Linked DNA regions of Homo sapiens: regions 1, 3, 4, 5, 6 and 7 are each linked to region 2. The links are contacts of gene promoters, found by promoter capture Hi-C in blood cells and fetal thymus (Javierre and others, 2016). All regions are on one chromosome and are shown on one strand. The core of a region is centred on a gene start or on the middle of the fragment in contact, and the rest is flanking DNA. Distances in the headings are between cores, read along the strand shown.

Region 1 (3,133 bases), core at 514-3,013, 1.8 Mb before region 2:
GAAGTAAAAACTATAAAGATTAACAAAATTATAATTATTCACAGATGATATTAAGTTTTAGGTAGAAAAATCCAAAAATTAAGTGATAAATTATGAGAATTGATTTGTGAGTTTAGCAAAGTCATTGTATTTCAGCTTGATCAGTTTTATTTTACACTCTAGAAAAAAACAAATGAAAGATTAAAAGTTAAAAATAATACCATGAACAATAATATAAAAATACTGAATACCAGGAATAAGTCTATTAAAAGTTGTGCAAAACCTCTATACAGAAAACTACAACACATTATTGAGAAAAATTTAAAAAGGATCTAATAAATAGAAAGCTATAATCTCTTCAGTATTTCAATTCTCCCCAAATTGATTTAGGTTCAGTGCCATCCCAATAAAAATTCTAGCACTTTTTTATGTGCTTGCACATATGTATGTGTAACTATATTGTTAGGATAATTCTAAAATTTGTGTGAAAGGCAAGAGACCAAAGATAGCCCAGGCAATACTGAAGATGAATAACTAGGTTAGAGGACTTACCTTATCTGATATGGAGATATTTGGTTAGTGGATTGTGGAAAATAATGGTATCCTTTGGGCTAAGCATGAGATGTCTCATTACCTATTTCTCTTTTGTTAGAAGTATACCCCAAATCTTCAAGTCTAACCCATTTTAATTTTTCATTATATTGCAATGTTGAGTCCAGGGTATATGAATATGGAAGGGAATTTCATACTCAAATAGTTCTCTTTGGTTTCTACCTTTCCTCTTGAACAGAAAATGTGGCAATGAGCTTCTTCACTTCTTTTGGCACTTTTAAAATGCCTGGGATGAAGATAAAGGTGCTGAAAAATGAGAAATGGGCAAATGCTGCTAAAATGGTTATCAAAATTCTGAACTGATAAAAATATTTTGATACAGATTGAGGAACTTGATTGTCCATTTGGAACAAAATGCTCTAACAGGTTAATTAGAAGGTATCTTTTGAACTCTTTGAGAAAGCTGAAGCGCTTGCAGTGGGTTATTATTAAATCATGTAGAACAAGGCTTTTCAAATTTTCCAAATTTCTTTATTGAATAAAGCTTCTAGGCTGATTGATTAGGAAAATGTATATCAGAAACTAGTTTATCAGACAGATATGGAGAGAATATCTTTGTGGACAAAAAGAAAAATGTCAGGATGATAATGTATTCAGGAGAATTTGTAAAGTTTTGACTGATAGTTTGTATCTAAGAAAAGCAATCAATATTTTTGACAGTCAGGAAGTAGCTGGTTACATGCAGCAAATGTTTGAGATTATACCTACTCAACACTGTTGGTGGCCATAGGAAACAAATAGTTAACATGGACTTTGGAACTTTAGCTAATATATTGGAGGGCAGAATCGAGATCAGACGCAGGTAAAATAAGTGACCAGGTTTAACAAGATGAAATGTAATAGCAATTAACGTAAAGTGCTACAATGAATCTAAAGATTCAGCATATGCAGCAGACAAGATGTGCCTTAACATTAATTTACATGAAAAGGACAAGAGGTTTTTTGTCAGTCATGAGCTTGGGACAAGTCAACGATATAATACGATTTCTTAAAGTCTAATTGAATCTTAGGCAAATAGCTCATATGAGATTGGTAAATATGACATTAAAATCATGCCAGTGTAACATGGAAGCTGTATTTGTTTACATGTCATTTGTTTTTAGTCAAAAGGAGTCAGAATAGCAGGACCAGATTACAACCTCCTGCAGGCAGAACAAAGGTCTTCAACATGGCAATTGCACAGGCAGAAGACCTTTCAGCTCTATTTTAGGGCAATTTAAAATGGGCACCTAGGCTTCATCTTAACTTGAAGTGGGTTGTATTTATTCCTCTGCTACCTCATCAGGAGCCCCACTGAATCAGAATTCTGTTCTATGCATTTTCTTAGGGCCCTCAAGCCAACTTTCCCACTCTATTGGTTTCGGGCATTTTTAATATCCTTTGAAGTAGCCTCTAACCAAACTGAGCTACTGGAACTCTAGAGGCTCCAGTTATTCTTTTATTAGTATCCTAGTTACAAAATTGTTTGGGTTTTGGATGGTAGGACTTTAATGTTGTTTCTCTTTTAGGTCCTATTATTTTGGTGTTAGAGCCAAATACCATACAGAGATTAGTTGAGATCTGTCCCTACAACCTATATTTGACATGCACACTTGAGTTTTGGAGTCATAAACATAATTTCAAGCATCCCACAACTTCTAGGATTTCTGCACACATACCAAGAAATGGCTTGTCTTAATTCACAGAACTACCATTCAAGAAGTCCATGTCCCCATTTATTCAAAATTTGAGGTATTTTAAGAATTAATTTTATTCCTTTGCATTTTTTCTTTTTGCCTTTTTCCTCTCAATATCCATGTTATACAGTTAATAGCCCTAGGGTAAAGAGCTGTTTCAATCCAAGTCTATCTAGGAAGCTTGGCCCAAGATACCATTATTTATGGTTAGAAAAGATCATTGTTGTGCTAAGTTATTTTTCCTGGTTGGCAGCCTTAAAGGTTTGGGTTGCTGGCTGCTTTTTGGGGATTATATCATAAGTATGGATGAGTTGAAGTACAAACATTTAAAAAACTCCAGTATTCTTTGTCCAAACAAAAGAATAACCTTCCAAGTTATGAGGATATGAATCTCAAGTGTTCTGACTTCCAGAGGTTTTTTTGTTTTGTCTTTTCTCTGCAGTTACAATTTTCATGGTGTTGTTGTAGTCTGCCAATGTCAACCAATTTGTGTTTTCTGGTAGGATAATTGAGTTGAGATTTTTCTCCTTTGACATGAAGTCAGAATATTAAAGTTACAAACTCATGGGTTAGATCTTTGTAGAAGTGAAAGCTAATTCCTCTCTGAAGTCACTCTTGGCATAATTTAGGTAAATAGGACTGCTGTCCTTTTGGATAAACAGTAAATTTTCTATTATTTAGGAGCTGATCAGGTAACTTGTATATAATTCAGTTCTTTGACCTTCCTTTTTCTTAGGGTTTGCTGCTACCTCTTGACTGTTCAATCACTTTTCTGTATCTTTATGCAGATCTGTTTAACCTAAGCAGGATCAAGAAATTGGTCATTTAAATTAGGAAATTTCAGCTGATGTTTGTTTTAGGAAGTT
Region 2 (3,303 bases), core at 206-2,705:
GAAGTTGGAAAGCATCCGGAAAAGAAAGCTTGTAAGAGGGACGTGTGGGAGAACTAGAAGGGACGCTTCTGGCTGGGGCCAACTGAAGTGGGGAAGATCTGGGGAGGAGCGAGGAAAGGACCCAGATCTACTTGGAGCCAACCAAGAGACCGGACGGGAGTGGGGCGGAAAGGCGGAGACCAGTTCGAGCACTAACGCGGGGGCGCGCGAGTGTGAGGGTTGCGGGTCCGCCCGGGGCTAGGGCGGTCGCTCTCGCCATTGTCCCCGCGGCTTTCCGCCTGTGAAACACGTCCTTCCTCTGGGTCCTTGAGCCCCTCCCACTTTTTGGAGAGAAGAGCCACTCAGTTTTTTTTCCTAAGGACCTGTTGGTGGACCTCTCCTCGCTTTCGTAACGCGGATATAGCCTTTTCCCTTCCTGGTAGGAAGAGGAAGGAGGGGTCCGGGAAGGAAGCCGATTTCCTTCTTTCCCCCTCTGCACGCTTGCTAGCCCCAGCGATCGCTGCTGGCCCCCGGGTAGGAAAGTGGGGTTCCTGGCCGTTTCTGCGACGCTGGCCTAGGGCTTGCAGCTGCTGTTGAGTGAAAGCACGCAGACTGGCGGGAGCCGATCATTTCTCGAATGAAGAAGAAAAAGCGCAATTCCCTCCTTATGCTCTAGGGAATTGAGCCGCGTCCCAGATCACCCATTCCAGAAATGTGAAACCGGGCCCTCACAAAGTCGTCTCTGGTGAAGAGGTGGCGTGCGGGGTGGGGGTTGGTGGAGGGTGAAGGCATAAGCAAACATATTTTAAAATCCAGATCGTAGGAAGTGTCACCTGGCCCCTCACCCAGGCATGCTTTCTGGGGGAAGCGCAGGGCCAAGCTTTCCCTAGAAAAGCTGGGGCGAAGAGAGAGCAGGCGGCGGCTAAGGAGCTCCTGGCAGGCTGGGAAGGTGGAGAAGTGGGGTGAGGTATTTTTCTAGAAAGTGTAGCCCTAGCTCATCTCCTAGATTGGGGAAGAGGGAACTGAGGGAGGAGGGAAGGAGACCCAGGGCAGCTCCAGGATAGGGAAATGTTGAAGAAGGGACTGCGTTCTCCAACCGAACCCTCCCTCCTGGGAACCGCAGCCCAGCGCGGTAACTGAGTTACCGCAACCGGGCGGTGGGGAGGAAGGGTGGTCCAGGAAACCGGCGAGGGAGAAAAGCGGTGGAAGGGAGAGTCTTCTCCCTGGAGCGGCCCCAGCAGTACAAAGTGCTGGTCACAGCGCCCCTTCCGCCCCTAGATTGACGAGCAGTGGCGTGGAGCCAGCGCGGAGGCTGCCCCCTCCCCCTCCCGAGCCCGCAGCGCGGAGCGCGGTTTAGCACCAACGGAGCCGGGGGCGGCGTCTTTGGGATGGAAAAGGGCCAAAGGGGAGGAGTGGGGTGGGGGTGGGGGTTTCACTGGTCCACTATAAAAGGACCGCTCGGCTGCCCGGTTCTTGCACTCGCTGGAAAGCGGCTCCGAGCCAGGGGCTATTGCAAAGCCAGGGTGCGCTACCGGACGGAGAGGGGAGAGCCCTGAGCAGAGTGAGCAACATCGCAGCCAAGGCGGAGGCCGAAGAGGGGCGCCAGGCACCAATCTCCGCGTTGCCTCAGCCCCGGAGGCGCCCCAGAGCGCTTCTTGTCCCAGCAGAGCCACTCTGCCTGCGCCTGCCTCTCAGTGTCTCCAACTTTGCGCTGGAAGAAAAACTTCCCGCGCGCCGGCAGAACTGCAGCGCCTCCTTTTAGTGACTCCGGGAGCTTCGGCTGTAGCCGGCTCTGCGCGCCCTTCCAACGAATAATAGAAATTGTTAATTTTAACAATCCAGAGCAGGCCAACGAGGCTTTGCTCTCCCGACCCGAACTAAAGGTCCCTCGCTCCGTGCGCTGCTACGAGCGGTGTCTCCTGGGGCTCCAATGCAGCGAGCTGTGCCCGAGGGGTTCGGAAGGCGCAAGCTGGGCAGCGACATGGGGAACGCGGAGCGGGCTCCGGGGTCTCGGAGCTTTGGGCCAGTACCCACGCTGCTGCTGCTCGCCGCGGCGCTACTGGCCGTGTCGGACGCACTCGGGCGCCCCTCCGAGGAGGACGAGGAGCTAGTGGTGCCGGAGCTGGAGCGCGCCCCGGGACACGGGACCACGCGCCTCCGCCTGCACGCCTTTGACCAGCAGCTGGATCTGGAGCTGCGGCCCGACAGCAGCTTTTTGGCGCCCGGCTTCACGCTCCAGAACGTGGGGCGCAAATCCGGGTCCGAGACGCCGCTTCCGGAAACCGACCTGGCGCACTGCTTCTACTCCGGCACCGTGAATGGCGATCCCAGCTCGGCTGCCGCCCTCAGCCTCTGCGAGGGCGTGCGCGGCGCCTTCTACCTGCTGGGGGAGGCGTATTTCATCCAGCCGCTGCCCGCCGCCAGCGAGCGCCTCGCCACCGCCGCCCCAGGGGAGAAGCCGCCGGCACCACTACAGTTCCACCTCCTGCGGCGGAATCGGCAGGGCGACGTCGGCGGCACGTGCGGGGTCGTGGACGACGAGCCCCGGCCGACTGGGAAAGCGGAGACCGAAGACGAGGACGAAGGGACTGAGGGCGAGGACGAAGGGGCTCAGTGGTCGCCGCAGGACCCGGCACTGCAAGGCGTAGGACAGCCCACAGGTAGAAGAATTGCTCTCGTTTGTCTGTCCATTCATCCTCCTCTCCTCACTTTATCTATCCCACGCGACTTCAGGGTAGACTCCTGCTGGCAGGCAGGATCATAAGTCCGCGGACAGAACGGAGGCCTGGAGTGGAGGAATGTGGTTTGAGGTTTGGATTGGTGAACTCAGCTAGAAAACATACTTGCATTTGCCCGAATAATGAATAACCAAGAAAAAAACTGACAAACGATTTTCTGCAAACTAAAGCAAAGCATTTAGGCCGGGGAGGGAGAGTTTGTAACCTGACTCCTTCCACCTTTAGCGAGTTGGAGCTTGTGCGAGTTCTTTCCACTCTGTGTATTTCTTTTTAATGATTTTGTGTGCGCCTTTTGTGCGGGTTGCAACGTTGCGCTGAGTTTTGTAACCGCTGCCTGTGCGTGCATCCTGCGCTCACGGGAGGGCGGATGTGGAGAGGGCAGAGGAGCAATGGTGACCTGGGAAGGTACCCTGAGCGGCTACGCTAGGATCTCTGTTCTGCAGACTTCTGTCCCCTTTCCCCCTTATAAGGCTGACCCAGGCGGGCTGAAGGCGGTGGGGCCCCTTCGCAGAACCTGCTTGGGAGGTCTTTCCCGGGTTTGCCCCGCCTCCCAGTTTGCACTCCCTCTCGCGGCCATAATTCTGCT
Region 3 (3,029 bases), core at 166-2,665, 1.9 Mb before region 2:
GACAGAATGTTTGTGTGCCTTCAAAATTCATGAGTTGAAATCCTAATCCCCAGTGTGATGGTATTAGGACAATGAAGGCCTTTGGGTGGCGATTAGGTCACTAGGGTGGAGCCCTCATAAGTGGGATTAGTGCCCTTATAGAAGGGACCCCAAAGAACTCCCCAGCTCTTTTCACCATGTGAGGATAGAACAAGTTGATGACAGTCTGCAACCTGGAAGAAGGCCCTCACCAGGACCAGACCATACTGTCACCCTGACTTCCAGCCTCCAGGATACTGAGAACTAAGTTGTTTATAAGCCACTCTGTCTTTGGTATTTTGTTATAGCTACCTGAACTAAGACAGTCTTCATTTACACATATAACCTTTCCTTTTTTTAATCTCTCATTTTTGAGAAACCACTCCATTCTTTTAAGCATTTTAGTTAATCTTCTTGGATTTCATCCAGTTTGGCTATGCCTTTATAGAGGTCACAGTTGCTCACAGTGTTCTAGGTATGGTATGAATCCGTTTTGAATAAAGAATGACAGACTTGTATGATTTACTTTTAACACCCTTTTTTGCTATTACCTAGCATTATTTTTGTTAATAGCTTTCCTAAGGACAAATATCTTTCAAACCACACCATAATACTTTCTATTTTTCCTTGGTCATAACCATTGTTGACAACTGTCATAGCTATCCTTCTGTACATATGCTTGGAATTAATTGTTGTACCTGTTTAACCTGTGCCCACATGATATCTTATTTGCCATTTCCTTTCATCCCTGGGATTATAACCATACCCTGGGGATTGTGATCCAAGAACAACTTAATGGAAATTGTAAGATAAATTATAATCATTTACTACATAAGCATGAATAACATAATGAGTGGAAGAAGACAAAGAATACTCTTTGGCAGGAGGCAAAAAAGGATTAATAGTAGGAGAAACCAGTAAAAATAAAACCTGATTTTCAAAAGATCTTTAAGTTTCCACATGTAAGTTTCATATGGTAGAACAGTTTTTTTTTTTGACTACATTAAAGTTCCTCATTTTATTTAAACCATAAAAACATTGTGTCAAGAAGATATTAACATGCATTAATGTTATTTAAACATGATTAAAAATCATGGAATCTGGAATTTTGAAAATATGGGTCCTGAAAACTTTTGGCCATGGGCTTGTTTTTAAAGTAATTGCTTTTTTCACCCATGCTTCCCAATTAGCAGCAGATCCAGCAATCTGGAATCCTCCTAGCCAAGTTCACACCGATCATCTCAGGCTTGTTCTTTGCTCCCACTTTTGTTTTCATCATTTGCTGCATTCTATAACTATATTCAGCTTCTGGTCCTTTATTTTTTAAAACAATATTTAATTGACAATAAAGATTGTATATATTCAAGGTGTACAGTGTGATGATTTGATATACATATACCCTTTGTTTTTATTTCTTTTCTGTCTAAATCCACTCCCACCCAATTCATTATTGACATTAATGAATACATTTGACTTATTCTCGGTAACCCTCAGCTTTATGTAGGGATACAGTGTGTGTGTGTTTATATATATATATAGTAGGATAGTTTATTGAGAAGAGCATTTTAACTAAATGTAGTAGAAAAACTATTTACAAGCAGGCAATTCTCTGGTGAGTCTAGCTGCCTTCTACTAGGGTGTATGTTAAAGAGATAAAAATATTTACATCGAGTGTGGTGGCTCATGCCTGTAATAACAGAACTTTGGGAGGCCGAGGCAGGTGGATTACTTGAGGCAAGGAGTTCGAGACCAGCCTGGCCAACATGGTGAAATCCCGTCTATACAAAAAATACAAAAATTAGCCCAGTCTGGTGGCGCATGCTTGTAACTCCAGCTACTTGGGAGGCTGAGGTGGGAGGATCACTTGAATGGGGGACGCGGAGGTTGCAGTGAGCTGAGATCATGCCACCGTACTCCACACTGGGTGACAGAGTGAGACTTCATCTCAAAAAAAAAAAAAAAAATTAAAATTGTGCAACTCTTCTAAGTTTTGTGATTTGGAAAATATAGTAAATTTTCATTAAGATGTTGTTTGTGCTAACCTTTAATGTGTTTATTGTCGTTTTAAAACTAATAAATATTTAAACATTCTCAATGTAATTTTCTAATATTAGAAATATCAGTACACACAATCCACATGAACTTTGAGGCCCTTCACTTTTGAGAGTGTAAAGGGATGTTGAGGCCAGAAAGTTTGAGAACTGCTAGACTTTAGAGAATCCAAATGTCATTTCCACCTTCTTTGTGTACATTAAGTATTTACTTTTTCAAAGGGTCCATTACATTTCATTCACCAGAGTATATTTATCTGAGAGCATAGAGCAGTTTCCTACTGACTGGGAGTTTCAAAAGTAGAGCACAGTACATAGAACAATAAGGAAATACAGTAGCAGAGAATACAGCTACCAAGAATAATGCTAATTTCAGTTTTTTTGTGGTTCAGAGTGAGTATCTGAAATTCCATATTTAGCCTCCAAATAATAATTTTATAAACTGGGCTTATTTTATAGTCTTGAAAGTACAAGCGTTGCTTTTTCTGCAGTGATAACGTTCATGAAGGGAAAAGAAAACTGCAAAATCAGGAAAAGTCATTTAATTTTTAAAAAGTTTAGGAAATTCTGTGCTTTAAAAGATGAGTTAAAGAGAAGCCTCAATATTTCAGGTAGAGAAAACTGAAGAGGTAAAGAAATTAAGTTTATGAAACTAGCTCATTTTTTCTGTTTCCAAGATGAGTAAAGATACTGCAAGAGTCACCTCATGGCCATATTTTACACACACTCCCCTTCTAACTACATGTGAAATAAGACATGAATGACATTTGATTGAGGCCCGATAAGGACCATAAATTTCTCAGAAAATATAACTAGGATGTTATAGAGTCGTTAAATAATCCTTCAATGTAACCAAACCATTGTGGAACAGATGAAATGAATTTGTAGTTGCAACTGTCTACTTCTGAATGCTCAAAGATATACACTAACAAAATCTTTAGATGAAAACAGAGGAGATTT
Region 4 (3,163 bases), core at 146-2,645, 2.0 Mb before region 2:
ATGAAAGATTGAATGGATGGGCAAATTCCTGTTTCTTCTGGCATTTTCTCCCAGGTTATCTGGGAGATTTTCAATCTTCTCCACTCTGCTCTGAACTCCCACTTCAGCTCTGGGAGAGTCTCCTCGTCGGATCCCTCTGTTTCAGCCTACTTACTGGATGACATGGCTCATTCCAGAAGGACATAGGGTACTTGCATTTTGAAGATGCTGGTTATGCCAGGTTCTCCTTGATCATGAAGACTCAGCACATTGGGACACTCAATTCACTGCGGCTAAAGTTCATTATCATAGTGAATATTTTAAGTGTGATTGAGAAGATTATTTCTACATAAGCAGCATTTTGCAGGAGTTAGTTGCTGGGAGGATGGATTAGTTCAGTGTTTGCTTTCGGATTTTGTGATGGTTTAGGTACTTTCCCTGGTGATGATCCTTGTTACTGTTAAACGTTTTCTGTTATTATTTTTATACAGTCTGTGGATAACGTTAGTGAAGAACATCTTAAACATCTCTCATGATTAGTAGGCTGTGTTCCTGTCAATAGTGGCCCTCATGCTCCCCATTCTGGTGGAATATTAATATTTGGTTATGAAAGAGATTTGAAATAACTCTGGCATGCTGGGAATGACACTAAGGATCTTAGGTGAAATCCATATTCCCAACAGAGAGATTCTTTCCCCAGATTTAAATGTCCTTTAGTGTTTTAGTCATTTTGAACTGTGTGTTCATTCCACTTAGCTTATTTTTGTGTGTGAAGGAAACCAAAAGAACATGGGAGACTCTGCTAATATTTACAGATGGGTTTTAGTTCCCCTACTGATGTGTACTTATCAGGGCTCTTTAAGGCTATACTTACAATGAGATCTTAAGTGTGTGTGATGACTGTCAAAAGGCAGTGAGAGAGACTTCCATCTACGGGGTGTCTGGATGGTTCTGTTTGTGCTGAACTTTTCCACTTTCATGAGTTTAGAAAAGCTGCAGGCCTGAGGAGTCATTTAACGTGTTTTGCCCATTTAAAGCAAATGCATTTCAGCATTTATAGACAATATTTCTGGGTGCCCTTTTATCCTCTCTTGAAGGCTATAGGTTGCAATGAGCATCCTGGCTCTCTGCCTCGTTTTCCAGCTGGCTCCTCCTCTTCTCATGTGTGCTTTCTTTCCTTATGGCTGGAGCCAACTGACCCAGAGATGTAGGTGGATCTAGGCTGTAGTCTTCTAAGAGCACAATTAGGGTGACCAGATGTCTTAGGACTGAGGGGTTTCTAGGCCCTGCACTTTCAGTGCTGAAGTAGGGAAATTCCTGGGAAAACTAGAATAGTTGGTCACCCAACTTTTATGGTTGTCAGGGGATCTTTAAAATTCCTAATTCAGGAACTCCAGTGACTGACCATTAAGTCTGTGCTCCTCAATGATTGCTTACGCATTGAATTTTGCCTTGTTCCTAAGGCCAACACCACACCTTGCACCCACATCCAGTAGAAAGATCTTGGTCATACTTCTTTAAGATGGAGCTCCTGTTTTGTTTATCTGCCTAGTACTCCAGATCCTCTTAGCCTGGTCCTGCCATGTTAGCTCACATTTGCTCAGTGCTTTGAGTCCTGCCTTTGGTCCCTAGCTCATATCTCTGCCTAATGTGGCCTGCTAGCTCCCTAGTGCCAAGACATCACCTTCACACCTATTACTTATGCTCAGCTGAAAGTCTAGACTAGCACCTAGAGCAGTGGTTCTCAAGGCGTGATCCTGGGACCAACAGCATCAGCATTACATGGGAATGTGTTAGAAATGCAAATTCTAGGCCCCTCTCCAGACCTACTGAATCAGGAACTCTGGAGGTGGTGCCCAGCAATTTGTGTTCTAACAAGCCCTCCAGGGGGTTGTAATACACACTCAAGTTTGAGAGCCCCTTCCCTGGGTCATGCACTGTGCCTTCCCAGCTAGACTTCAAAGCCTGAAGCCAAGTCTGCCCACCTTCATGGATCTTTAGATTGTCCCACTCCCTGCCCATTGCTGGCCTGGCTGATCTTCCTAACTAACCTTAAACTCCCATTCCTGCATAGATCTTCAAAGCAGTGTTTATTTCCACTGCTGATAGGGACTGTCCAGGTTTGCCCAAGACGGGTTAACTGGGCACAGGACTTTCAGTACTAAAACTGAGAACATTCTGGGCAAACTGGGAGGGATTAAAAACCCTAACTGAGCAAGCCCATTAATACATTCAGTGATGTTGCCTTATGGAGACAGAAAAATGGAGAAATAGAAGGAGGATTATTGACCCTTTAGGATATTCCCTTCTTTATAATAACAACAACAAAAAAGCCAAGAGGAAGACTGTCCATTATGGAGTGTGGATGGACTACTTATTTGAATAATTTTTAGTATTGAATAGGCTACATTTCAACTAGGACTGTTCAAAGACTCTCTATCTCTCTCTCTCTTTTTTTATTTCTGGGAAGCAACTCCAGTGAAGTCAGAATTTTAGAATGAATTTGTTGTGTGATCTCAGGCGGAGTACTAATCTTTTGCTTTATCTATAATTGGAATACTAATACGTTTTTCTTCTAATTACATTACAGTAGATGAATTGAAGACAAATGAAATTATGTGCTATCTGTAAAAACTGTTTCTTGCATGGGTGCTATATAAATATGTAATTTTTAAAACAATAACAAACTCATACACACACACTTTTCAAAGAGAACATGAAGTCTTTTGCAAGATATGAGAGGAAATCAAAGGTAGTATCTGACCACTTCAGATAGGAGTGATTTCTTCCTGTCGTAAATTCTGATAGAACCTAAAGTCTAGAACCATGGTTCACAGCCTTGGATGCCCATTAGAGTTACATGTGGACTTAACAACGACAACAACAACAGCAGCAACAACAACAACAATGACTGATGCTCAGGCTCCCCCTTACCCCAGAGGGTCTGATTTAATTGGTCTGCTGTGGTACTAGGTCATTGGTGGTCTTAAATTCACTAGGTGATTCAAATGTGCAGCCAGGTTTGAGAATCCTGAGTCTAGAATAGTTCTCAAACATTACTCATAAGCATCATTTGGGAGAAGCTTATAAAAAAATGCAAATTTAGCCCCCTCCTCCAATCAAGTAGATCTGGGGTGGGATTCAGGAATCTGCTTAATACACAAGCTTACCTGAGGGTTCTGAT
Region 5 (3,289 bases), core at 737-3,236, 1.8 Mb before region 2:
TTGTCACGTACTTTTACATGAGTTGACATGCATGGGCCTAAATTTAACAACAAAAAAGGTTGAGTTACAATCTACCTTCTCAATCACATGTTTATAGTATCTTTATATATCATTTACAGATATGGTTAGAGAAGCTTTATTCTAAGATTGAAAAAAACAAGTTGGTCTGGTAGCACTAAGTCTACTCTGTTGAATTTTGCTGGGTGTGTGCATGCTATGCTGACATGTACATCATACTTTCTCTTTTTTTCTTTAAAAACACACTGCAAATAAATGATATAAAAATGTATATCACAGGTTTGTAGGATTCCTGAATCTCCTCCACAAAACCCTAAGTTTCTGTAGGACAAATTTGAGAAATGTGACCTAAGTCAATCCATTTATTTTCTAGACGAGGAAAATGAGGTCCAAAGAGACGGTGTGTCCAAGGTGGGTGCCCTAAAATCAGAATCCAGGGGTCCTAGCCCCAGGTGCAGTATGTTTGCCATTGCCATGGTTCAGCTTTGTATAAGACATGTATTACAATCTCTGTAATTTACTTTAAAGTACATACAGCATGAGCAAACTTTAGCTAAGGCATTAACTTTATATGTGGCCAGATAGAATGCTAGCAGGGCAGCACAGTTCAGATGTGGCAGGGGGTATAATGTGAGAGGGGCCCACTGTGGAAACAGCTGCTACATGCCCTTTATTATATCCTTTTGTTCAACCTCTGATACTCTATGAACTAGCATATCAATTCCAAATTTGGGTTTCCATTGCTGAATCTAGTGTTTGTTGATTAGCCTGATGGATGTTAGAAATAGGCTTTGGCTCTCACTGATGAAATTAAACATATTTTGAACATATGGATTGGCTAAAATAGTTCAGAGTCTCTCCATCCTTTTTAAAAAGAGTATAAAAATGCACGAAGGCCTGACCTGATATTTTTAAGGATGACAGTCATGGTTTGATTCCCTTCAATCCAGATGTTGACTTAGGAGAATTTCTGACTGCATGGTGCTGTGTAAGCACAGAATCCTGCCTTGGAAATCTCACAGTGTCTATTTCAACTGAATGTTTCATCCCTGGGCCACCTAAAAAGCGTTCATCCAGCACACAGAACAAATAGTATAAACTCTTTTATGCTTTCTTGCTAATGAATAGTTGCTACTACATGTCTGTCTATATAAAGAAATTTATGCTGAGATTTGTTTTTATTAAAACCTAATGGTGGCCAGGTGTGGTGGCTCACTCCTGTAATTGCAGCACTTTGGGAGGCTGAGGTGGGAGGATCACGAGGTCAGGAGTTCGAGACCAGCCTGGCCAACACAGTGAAACCCCATGTCTACTAAAAATACAAAAATTAGCCGGGCACAGTGGTGGGTGCCAGTAATCCCAGCTACTTGGGAGGCTGAGGCAGGAGAGTCGCTTGAACCTGGGAGGCAGAGGTTGTGGTGAGCTGAGATTGCGCCATTGCACTCCAGCCTGGGCAACAAGAGCACAACGCCATCTCAAAAAACAAACAGCAACAACAACAACAACAAAAACAAAAAAACAAAAAACAAAAAACCTAATGGTGAGGTGTGGGAGAGTAGTAAATTTTCACTATAACAGATTCTCTCCTTCACCAAACTCTAGCCAGGCTCTTTGGAGCCCTCTTCTTGACTAGGCCTCAGCCTGGCATATAAAGACTTGAACACTCACTAATATAGTTTCTAATAGCTCAAAGTAGTGTTCCTAAGAATGACCCTAGACCCACATATAAAATGCTTGCCTGAGAACACTCAAGGCTGTCACAAGGATGTACTGTTTGTTTCAGCCAACACCTGAATACAGGGACCCTGTCTCCCAGCCTCTGTGGGAGGGAAGGAGCCTAACTCTGATAAGCTCCAGTTAGCAAAGTTGTGTGGATTTTACATGAACCAATTCCCTGTTTCTGTTTTTTTTGTAATTTTTTACTTCCCTGACTCTAATACCTGCCCCCTCCCTACTCTCTCATTCTCCCTTTAAAACAACAGTCACCTCCCTCCAAATTGAAGCTGAGTTCAGTTTATACAGAACATGTTTCCTTATTGCAATAGTACATTACTGATGAAAATCTGTCCTTACCTCTTTAGCATCCGGCTTTGTTTATTCTTGACACCATTTCAACCTTTTTGGTGACCACTAGAAATCTAAGTGTGCATAACCAAACTGGCTTCTGTAAGTTTGCAACGATGGGCTTTGTTTTGGTTTGAGAGTCAGTGGGGTCTTAAATCTTCTGCTTTCTTAATATATTTTTCCTTTTCCACTTTACCACAGCCTTTAGCTAAAGTTTAAAAAAGAGGGAGTCATCACTGTGGCTCTTTGTGACTTTCTGATGAAAGTCTTGCTGTTCTTCAACTTCAACTTCCTGTCCTTTCTGGTATACTGGCTTTTGGGACATAAAGGCTCATGATCAGTTGAAAAGATGAAATACATATCATAGTGTATTGTACAAAATAATGCCAACAATTTAAAATAGTGAAAAAGACTTAAAAAAGGAAAATCTAACATATGGAAAACATATGGCAAGGCAATTGCATAGAGGTAGCCCCTAAGAGCTGACTTTTATGATCACTAACTATATTCTGAAGTCTTGCATCCTGAGATACTTCACATGAACCGATTCCCTATTTCTGTTTTTTGTAGGTTTTTTTTACTTCCCTGACTCTAATACCTGCCCCCTCCCAACTCTCTCATTCTCCCTTTAAAACACCAGTCACCTCTCCACAAATTGAAGTTGACTTCGGTTCATGCAGAACTCATTTCCCTATTGCAATAGTACATTACTGATGAAAATCTGTCTTTACCTCTTTAACTAGTGTCTGACTTTGTTTACTTTTTACACCATTTAAATCTTTTTGGTGGCCACTAGAAATCTAAGTGTGCATAACCATTCCTTGTAGAATAGAGCTGATCTCACAGGTACTTGGTCATCAAGGTGAGGAAGGGCAGTTGGATGTTCGACCCAGGAGCTTGGAGCTCAAGTGAGCCCATGGTCCACTGGAGTTCCCAAGTACTATGGGTGGGATTGTGCATCCCCCATTCACGTGTTGATGTCAGGTTTGGATCATAATTCTGAAAGACACAATCCTGAATGCCGTAATCTCAAATGATGAAATCCCAAATGATGAAAATCCCTGCAGTATAATATCCCTTATGTCTAAAATGATGAAAGTCACAGTCACAGGATGGTTGCATCATGTCAGGTTGAACTATTACCTTGTAGTCTTTATGCAGAAGGAAATGGATTTCAATTGAATTCCCAAACCGTAATGACAGACTC
Region 6 (3,044 bases), core at 525-3,024, 1.9 Mb before region 2:
TATAAGACGGCAAAAAGCACGTGAAAAGATATTCATTGTTAGCCACTGGGAAAATGCAACTAGAAACTACAGTGAGATACTAGCACATACCTATCTGGATGGCTAAAATATGGTAATGAAACCTAATGCTGGCAAGGATGCAGAGAACCTTGACCACTTCTACATAGCTGGTGGGAATATAAAATGGGACAACCACTCTGAAGAAGTTTCGTAGTCTCTTACTTATAAAACTAACCTGCAATTGCCATAGGACCCAGCAGTTGCACTTTTGGACATTGGTTGCAGATATATTGAAACATGTTCATATAAAAACATGTTGATGAATGTGTATAAAAGCTTGGTTTGCCTTCAGCAAACGAATAGTTAAACCATGACACATCCATACCATGGAATACTACCCAGCAATAAAAAGAAATGGAAGACTCATACATTCGACAACTTGGATGAATCTCCAGGGAATTAGGCTGATAGAAAAAAGCCAACCCCTAAAGGTTAAATACTGTATGATCCCACTTATATAACATTTTGACAAAATTTTAGAATTGGAGGATAGCCTAATAGTTGCTGGGAGTGTACAAATGGGTGGGGTAAAGAGGTGAGTGTGGTTATATAAAAGCTGAGCCATTTCTCATTGTATACAAATTTCACAACATCATGTTGTCCACCATAAATATGTATATTTGTCAATTAAAAATGTAACACCAAAAAATTTATGACAATTCTTTTCTACTACTGAGAATGTTTTCAAGGGTAAACATTTATTTTTTAAAGTAAAGGTTCTCATGGGATTTTGGAAGACTTGCTTATAAGTAAATCTGTTATTTAAATTTAGGAAATTTTCTTTAGAACTTTATTGATGTCTCATAGATACAAATATCCCATTAACTTTGTTTAATAAATAAATGAATTCACTAGCTAGGCTTTGAAGATATCTCTGAAATCAAACACTGTTTGATGACCTTATCTTTAATCTTTTGGAGGACAAGAATGTTTTTTATTCTAACAACAAAGGTCCTTCATTTGTGACCAGATCTCCTCCTCTTGCCAAACGTGTTCTTTAATTCTGCTGTGACAGTTGCTGGTCTATCCTAAGCCATTTCATCCCCTTTTCCTTGAGGGCAGAGACTTGATTTCATCCTGGTGTCACCTTGTCATGAGTTCAGGGTAAGTGACAACCTCTCTGGACCCCAGAGAGTGAATTATGTTTGGGCTAAGGCAATCATGGTGGACTCATTTCCTTTGTAGACATTGATTTAGGGATGGGCATGTGACTACATCTAGCCAATAAGACCTGAGGAGAAGTCAATTTTGGGAGCTTCTGGAAACTTCCTTGCTAATAGCAATTGAGATACAGGAAGAAATTCACCTTCTCTTTGCTGGGTATTTTTGTGTCTGCAGTTGTTGGCTGATGCTGCCAATACCATGTTTGGACTGTAAAGAGGTCACATGACATTCTAAAGATGACAAAACTGAAATAGAGAAGGCACAAGGGTTCTTGATGATATTGCTTTGCTGCTTCATTGCCATATCATAAGCCTTCTTAGTGTTTGAACTACTTCAAATTGGATAGTCTGTGACTTGCATCAAAAACATTCTAATGGATTACTTAATGCTTAAGGAAAACTGAATGAACACATTTTAGTGAAAAACATGTTCAATAATACATAGAATAACCACTGTGATGGTTAATATTGAGTGTCAACTTGATTGGATTGAAGAATGAATAAAGTATTGTTCTGGGTGTGTCTGTGAGGGTGTTGCCAAAGGAGATTAACTTTTGAGTCAGTGGCCTGGGAGAGGCAGGCCCACCCTCAATCTGGGAGGGTACCATCTAATCAGCTGCCAGAGCAGCTAGGATAAAAGCAGGCAGAAGAACGTGGAAGGACTAGATTGCCTGAGTCTTCCAGCCTTCATCCTTCTCCCGTGCTGGATGCTTCCTGCCCTTGAACATTGGACTCCAAGTTCTTCAGCTTTTGGACTCTTGGACTTACACCAGTGGTTTGCCAGGGACTCTCAGGCCTTTAGCCACAGACTGAAGGCTGCACTGTCGGCTTCCCTACTTTTGAGGTTTTGGGACTCAGACTGGCTTCCTTCTCCTCAGCTTGCAGATGGCCCATTGTGGGACTTCACCTTGTGATCGTGTGAGTCAATACTCCTTAATAAACTCCCCTTCATATATACATCTATGCTATTAGTCCTGTTCCTCTAGAGACCCATGACTAATACAACCACAGTCCACAGCCTTTCTCCTACTCTCACCACACTTGCGTGGGCCTCTCTCAGAATAGGATTATACACAGCAGCCTACTAGTGGGGCAAGAATTTTTTGAATTGCACCTCATTCTGGGCTGGTGCAACTGATTCATCAGGCAGATAAGCCACTGGCTCTGTGGCATCCACTCTTAATGTTAAAAGATGTCTTGACTTCAGCTGGGTTGCCTATAGAAGGCACAAGAGATTCTTTCATGTTTTCTTCATGCTTCAAGTTTTGAGAAGAAATCCTAATTAGGGCTGCTTACCCTGTTCCCAGGCTTGAGGCATTGCCATTGAAACTCCCAGAAGTCTACAAATTCTTCTTGACGCTGCCTGTCTGCTAGACTTTTCTCCCCATTCCTTGAATTAAAAAGGGACCCATTCCCTTTAAGAACTTAAGGGGTTAAAACCTATAACTCCTCTGCAGGATCCTTTTCTGCCAATTTCTGTTAAAGGCCATTGCATATTTTGTCTTCCCTCTTTTTTTTTTACCCTCACCTCTCCAATTTCCACCACTCTACTGAATCCTTTCCAATGGCATTTTAACAGTCACGCCCATCTTAATAAAATCCTCCATTTACTTCACTTTGCTCTCTAATTTATTTTCTCTTAAATAACAACTTGAAAGGGTTGTGTACACTTAGTCTCCATTTTCTTCTCTCTCACTCACCATTTATTTAATCTTTTATAATCTGGCTTCAGTACCCATCACTCCACTGAAACAACTCATGTTATTGTCAACAATGACCTTTTAGGACCTTAAATTCAGGTACCTTTTACTGTCTTTCTTG
Region 7 (2,999 bases), core at 65-2,564, 1.9 Mb before region 2:
TGCTATAATTAAATAGCAGCAGACTGCTTCAGATTATTATGTGTATGCATACACACACTTCATGAAAAACAGAAGCATTTTTAAAATGAGGGATATTGGCCCTATTTTTTTAATTGGGAACAGAAGAATTTATCAGTTTATTTCAAGCAAGCCCTCAGGCTTACTTGAATGAAACAGGTCTGGTCTGAATTGATTTTCTTCCCAAAGAAATCAGGCTTATAAACAAGTGGTCCTATTTGAACATCAAATTTACCTACGCATTGCAGGTTATCTAATAAGTCCATGCACAGGCATTTTTAACATCCCCACAAATTAATCTATTATATGCACTTCTTTTCTTCTCCAATAAATCTTAAATCTACAAACTAAAGGCCCAAATCAAATGATTGCACTTCATGAATTCTATAGCATCCATAATGGATGTGGCTCCTTTGTTATTTTGAGCACGCAGGGTGCAACTTTGAAAGGTTAGCTAATGTATTTTTTGTTGCTAGAAACTATTTGTCCTCTATCCTTCCCTCCTTTCCAGGCAGCTGCCTGGGCATTAGGTTTTACTAACTTCTCCTGAGGATGATGTAACCAAACCAAAGAGTTGATTCTTAGTTTTTGGGTTTCAAACGCTTGGGCTTTGAATTTCATAAGGCAAAACTAAGAAAGACTTTGGGACCATACAATTATTCCAAAGCCACTGAAGTGTATGTAAATGTGTGGGTGTCCTGGGGATGCATCTCCTTCCCAAGGGAATACGTGGGGACTGAGACAGTGTCAACAAAATCAACCTCCAGATCCTCAAATCCCCTATATTTGCTTTTCTCAGACTCATCTCTCCATAGGCACCCTTATGACTTGCAGAGTTTCTTGCTTATTTTTTCTCCCCACACTTGCCCTTTTCATGTTCCTACTTCCATCCTTTGATTCACTCCTTATCTTGCTATGGTGGAAAAACCCAAGCAAAGGGACCCTGTGAACTAGTACTGATATTGAGAAAACTAATTGATCTGATAACTGGGGACCACATTCTTTTACAATGATTTTTTATTCTTTGCTCAGAATAAAGTTTGAAAACCTACTTAGGATATTCTAAATAATTTTTTTTTTTTTTTTTTAGATAGGGTCCTACTCTGTTGCCCAGGCTGGACTGCAGTGGTGCAAGGATTCTCATGCCTCATCCTCCCAAGTAGCTGGGATTACAGGCACCCACCACCACTCCCGGCTAATTTTTGTATTTTTAGTAGAGATGGGGTTTTGACATGTTGGCCAGGCTGGTCTCGAACTCCTGACCTCAAGTGATCCACAGGCCTTGGCCTCCCAAAGTGCTGGGATTACGGGCATGAGCCACTGTGCCTGGCCTGAAAATAATCTTTGACGGTAGACTACTATGCTATGTTTAGGATGTAACTCTAAAAAATCTCAAAGAAGTGAAAGACACTGCTATAATAAAATCGATTCTATTTTCAACTACTTAAATAAATTCTTTTTGGACAAGTCTTTTCAGTGCTATTTTTTAAACAAAGAACAACATTGATATTAACCTCTGTCTCATTCTATTGATAAATAGTATTCATTCATGGAGAGATTAACTAATTAGAAAAATCAGACCAGTCCCGCCCATTTCATTGAGATGATTTTCCATTAAAATTTAAATTTTTAAGTTTATTTATTAATATTTAAAATATATTTGTATTGTTTTGATCAGTTGTGAACTAAGTAAAACATAGTATGGTAATTCCCCAAATAAAACTTAAAAATATACATTTGAACCTATATAGTCAAAGGACCTTTTTTAAAAAATGTTAATTTATACCCTTTTCTGTGGTGAATTATGTTAATAATTAGTTAAATTCTTATTTAGTTAAATTTAGTTAAATTATTTCAAGTATATTATTGTATTAGAATAAAGTTCTGTGGGGAAAATGGAATGGAAATATGACTTTAAGGAACATTATAAAACAAGATAAGCATGTACATTTATATCGTTAAGTGAACAGTGATGAGTATCCCATTTCTTTGGAATTTAAATTCCACTGGAAACATTTGAAGGATCTGAGTAACAATTTTATTTTAGACTTTCAATATTTACAATTTACTGGAAGTCACTTTTAGCAACTACTTAAACTGATGACCAAGAAAGCCTATAGATGTCAACCTAATAATGTGCTAGGGGGTACAATGTCTTTTGAAATTATTTTAGGGAATAGATGAGTAAAAATAGACAAATTGAAGACCAAATTATAAAAATCATCCAGAATTATTTAAAAGCAAGACTTGAAATGAGATTGAGAATCTGGACTGCGGATGGCAGAGAGCATTGCTTCTGACAGTAACTGGGGTCTGAGTCAGGACATGATAGAACTTGCAGAGTTCAGTCTGAGAGTTGGCAGCACCTAAGCCCTCACTCTTGTCTGGTATCCCTGGAAAGCTGTTGATGTGTGGTTAGGAGAAGGCTAAGGGGGAGAAATGCCTGAGATTTCATCAAGTTCCCTCCATGTGTTTCCTCCCAGTATTCACTCTGAGTTTGCAGCTCAGTTGTCTGCAGTGATTACCTGTCTCATGAATGTATCCCTTTTAGTTTACCTCCCTTCCTAGTCTCACTTTCTCCATTGCCCTACCTGTGCTTTCTGAGGTTATCTCCCAAATAAACTACCTGCACCCAGCTTCTATCTCAGAATCTGTATTTGGGGGACATCAAAACCAAGAGATGTGCCATAAGTCACTTACTTACATGGAATAGATTTAATTTCAATACAATTTAGCATGCATTTATTGGGTGCATGCTAGGTTGGCTCTAGGGACACCCAACAACATTGATTGACTTATTAATCAGGATGGAAGTCAGGACTATCAGCTGGTCCTCTGTACTGAGTGTACATAGAGAGATTTAGGGAAAACTGACCTTAAAGAAATTAATCTTAAAAAGGTGTGATACCACTTTGGGAGGTCAAGGAGGGCGGATTGCTTGAGGCCAAGAGTTTGAGACCAGCCGGGCCAACATGACAAAA

The links. The method cuts DNA at HindIII sites, captures the fragments that hold promoters and counts their contacts. A CHiCAGO score of 5 or more calls a contact.
Region 1: a fragment that was not itself captured here is called in contact with the fragment with the promoter of ADAMTS1 in region 2 in 3 of 17 cell types (total B cells, activated CD4 T cells and total CD4 T cells); the score reaches 6.7 in total B cells.
Region 3: a fragment that was not itself captured here is called in contact with the fragment with the promoter of ADAMTS1 in region 2 in 3 of 17 cell types (naive B cells, naive CD4 T cells and monocytes); the score reaches 7.0 in naive B cells.
Region 4: a contact is called between a fragment that was not itself captured here and the fragment with the promoter of ADAMTS1 in region 2, in 1 of 17 cell types (fetal thymus). The highest score is 5.7, in fetal thymus.
Region 5: a contact is called between a fragment that was not itself captured here and the fragment with the promoter of ADAMTS1 in region 2, in 2 of 17 cell types (non-activated CD4 T cells and erythroblasts). The highest score is 6.0, in non-activated CD4 T cells.
Region 6: a contact is called between a fragment that was not itself captured here and the fragment with the promoter of ADAMTS1 in region 2, in 10 of 17 cell types (erythroblasts, total B cells, fetal thymus and 7 more). The highest score is 13.7, in erythroblasts.
Region 7: a fragment that was not itself captured here is called in contact with the fragment with the promoter of ADAMTS1 in region 2 in 16 of 17 cell types (activated CD4 T cells, total B cells, megakaryocytes and 13 more); the score reaches 16.6 in activated CD4 T cells.

Annotation. Positions count from the first base shown.
Region 1 is chr21:28,657,148-28,660,280 of GRCh38, reverse strand. It overlaps a transcript of HEMK2 not described here. Among named protein-coding and RNA genes, the nearest start is that of LINC00161, 120 kb to the right of the region's middle. The HindIII fragment of the contact is 1,372 bases long and covers 1,078-2,449 here.
Region 2 is chr21:26,843,561-26,846,863 of GRCh38, reverse strand. It overlaps ADAMTS1 (ADAM metallopeptidase with thrombospondin type 1 motif 1), which reads left to right and starts at 1,455. Exons shown (of 9, transcript NM_006988.5): 1 at 1,455-2,639. The coding sequence starts at 1,910. RefSeq lists enhancers at 71-670, 671-1,271. The HindIII fragment of the contact is 3,865 bases long and covers 862-3,303 here.
Region 3 is chr21:28,706,210-28,709,238 of GRCh38, reverse strand. It overlaps a transcript of HEMK2 not described here. Among named protein-coding and RNA genes, the nearest start is that of LINC00161, 170 kb to the right of the region's middle. The HindIII fragment of the contact is 7,731 bases long and covers 1-3,029 here.
Region 4 is chr21:28,823,921-28,827,083 of GRCh38, reverse strand. It overlaps a transcript of HEMK2 not described here. Among named protein-coding and RNA genes, the nearest start is that of HEMK2, 60 kb to the left of the region's middle. The HindIII fragment of the contact is 3,338 bases long and covers 1-3,064 here.
Region 5 is chr21:28,684,458-28,687,746 of GRCh38, reverse strand. It overlaps a transcript of HEMK2 not described here. Among named protein-coding and RNA genes, the nearest start is that of LINC00161, 150 kb to the right of the region's middle. The HindIII fragment of the contact is 3,700 bases long and covers 137-3,289 here.
Region 6 is chr21:28,775,671-28,778,714 of GRCh38, reverse strand. It overlaps a transcript of HEMK2 not described here. Among named protein-coding and RNA genes, the nearest start is that of HEMK2, 110 kb to the left of the region's middle. The HindIII fragment of the contact is 2,871 bases long and covers 339-3,044 here.
Region 7 is chr21:28,724,977-28,727,975 of GRCh38, reverse strand. It overlaps a transcript of HEMK2 not described here. Among named protein-coding and RNA genes, the nearest start is that of HEMK2, 160 kb to the left of the region's middle. The HindIII fragment of the contact is 4,683 bases long and covers 1-2,999 here.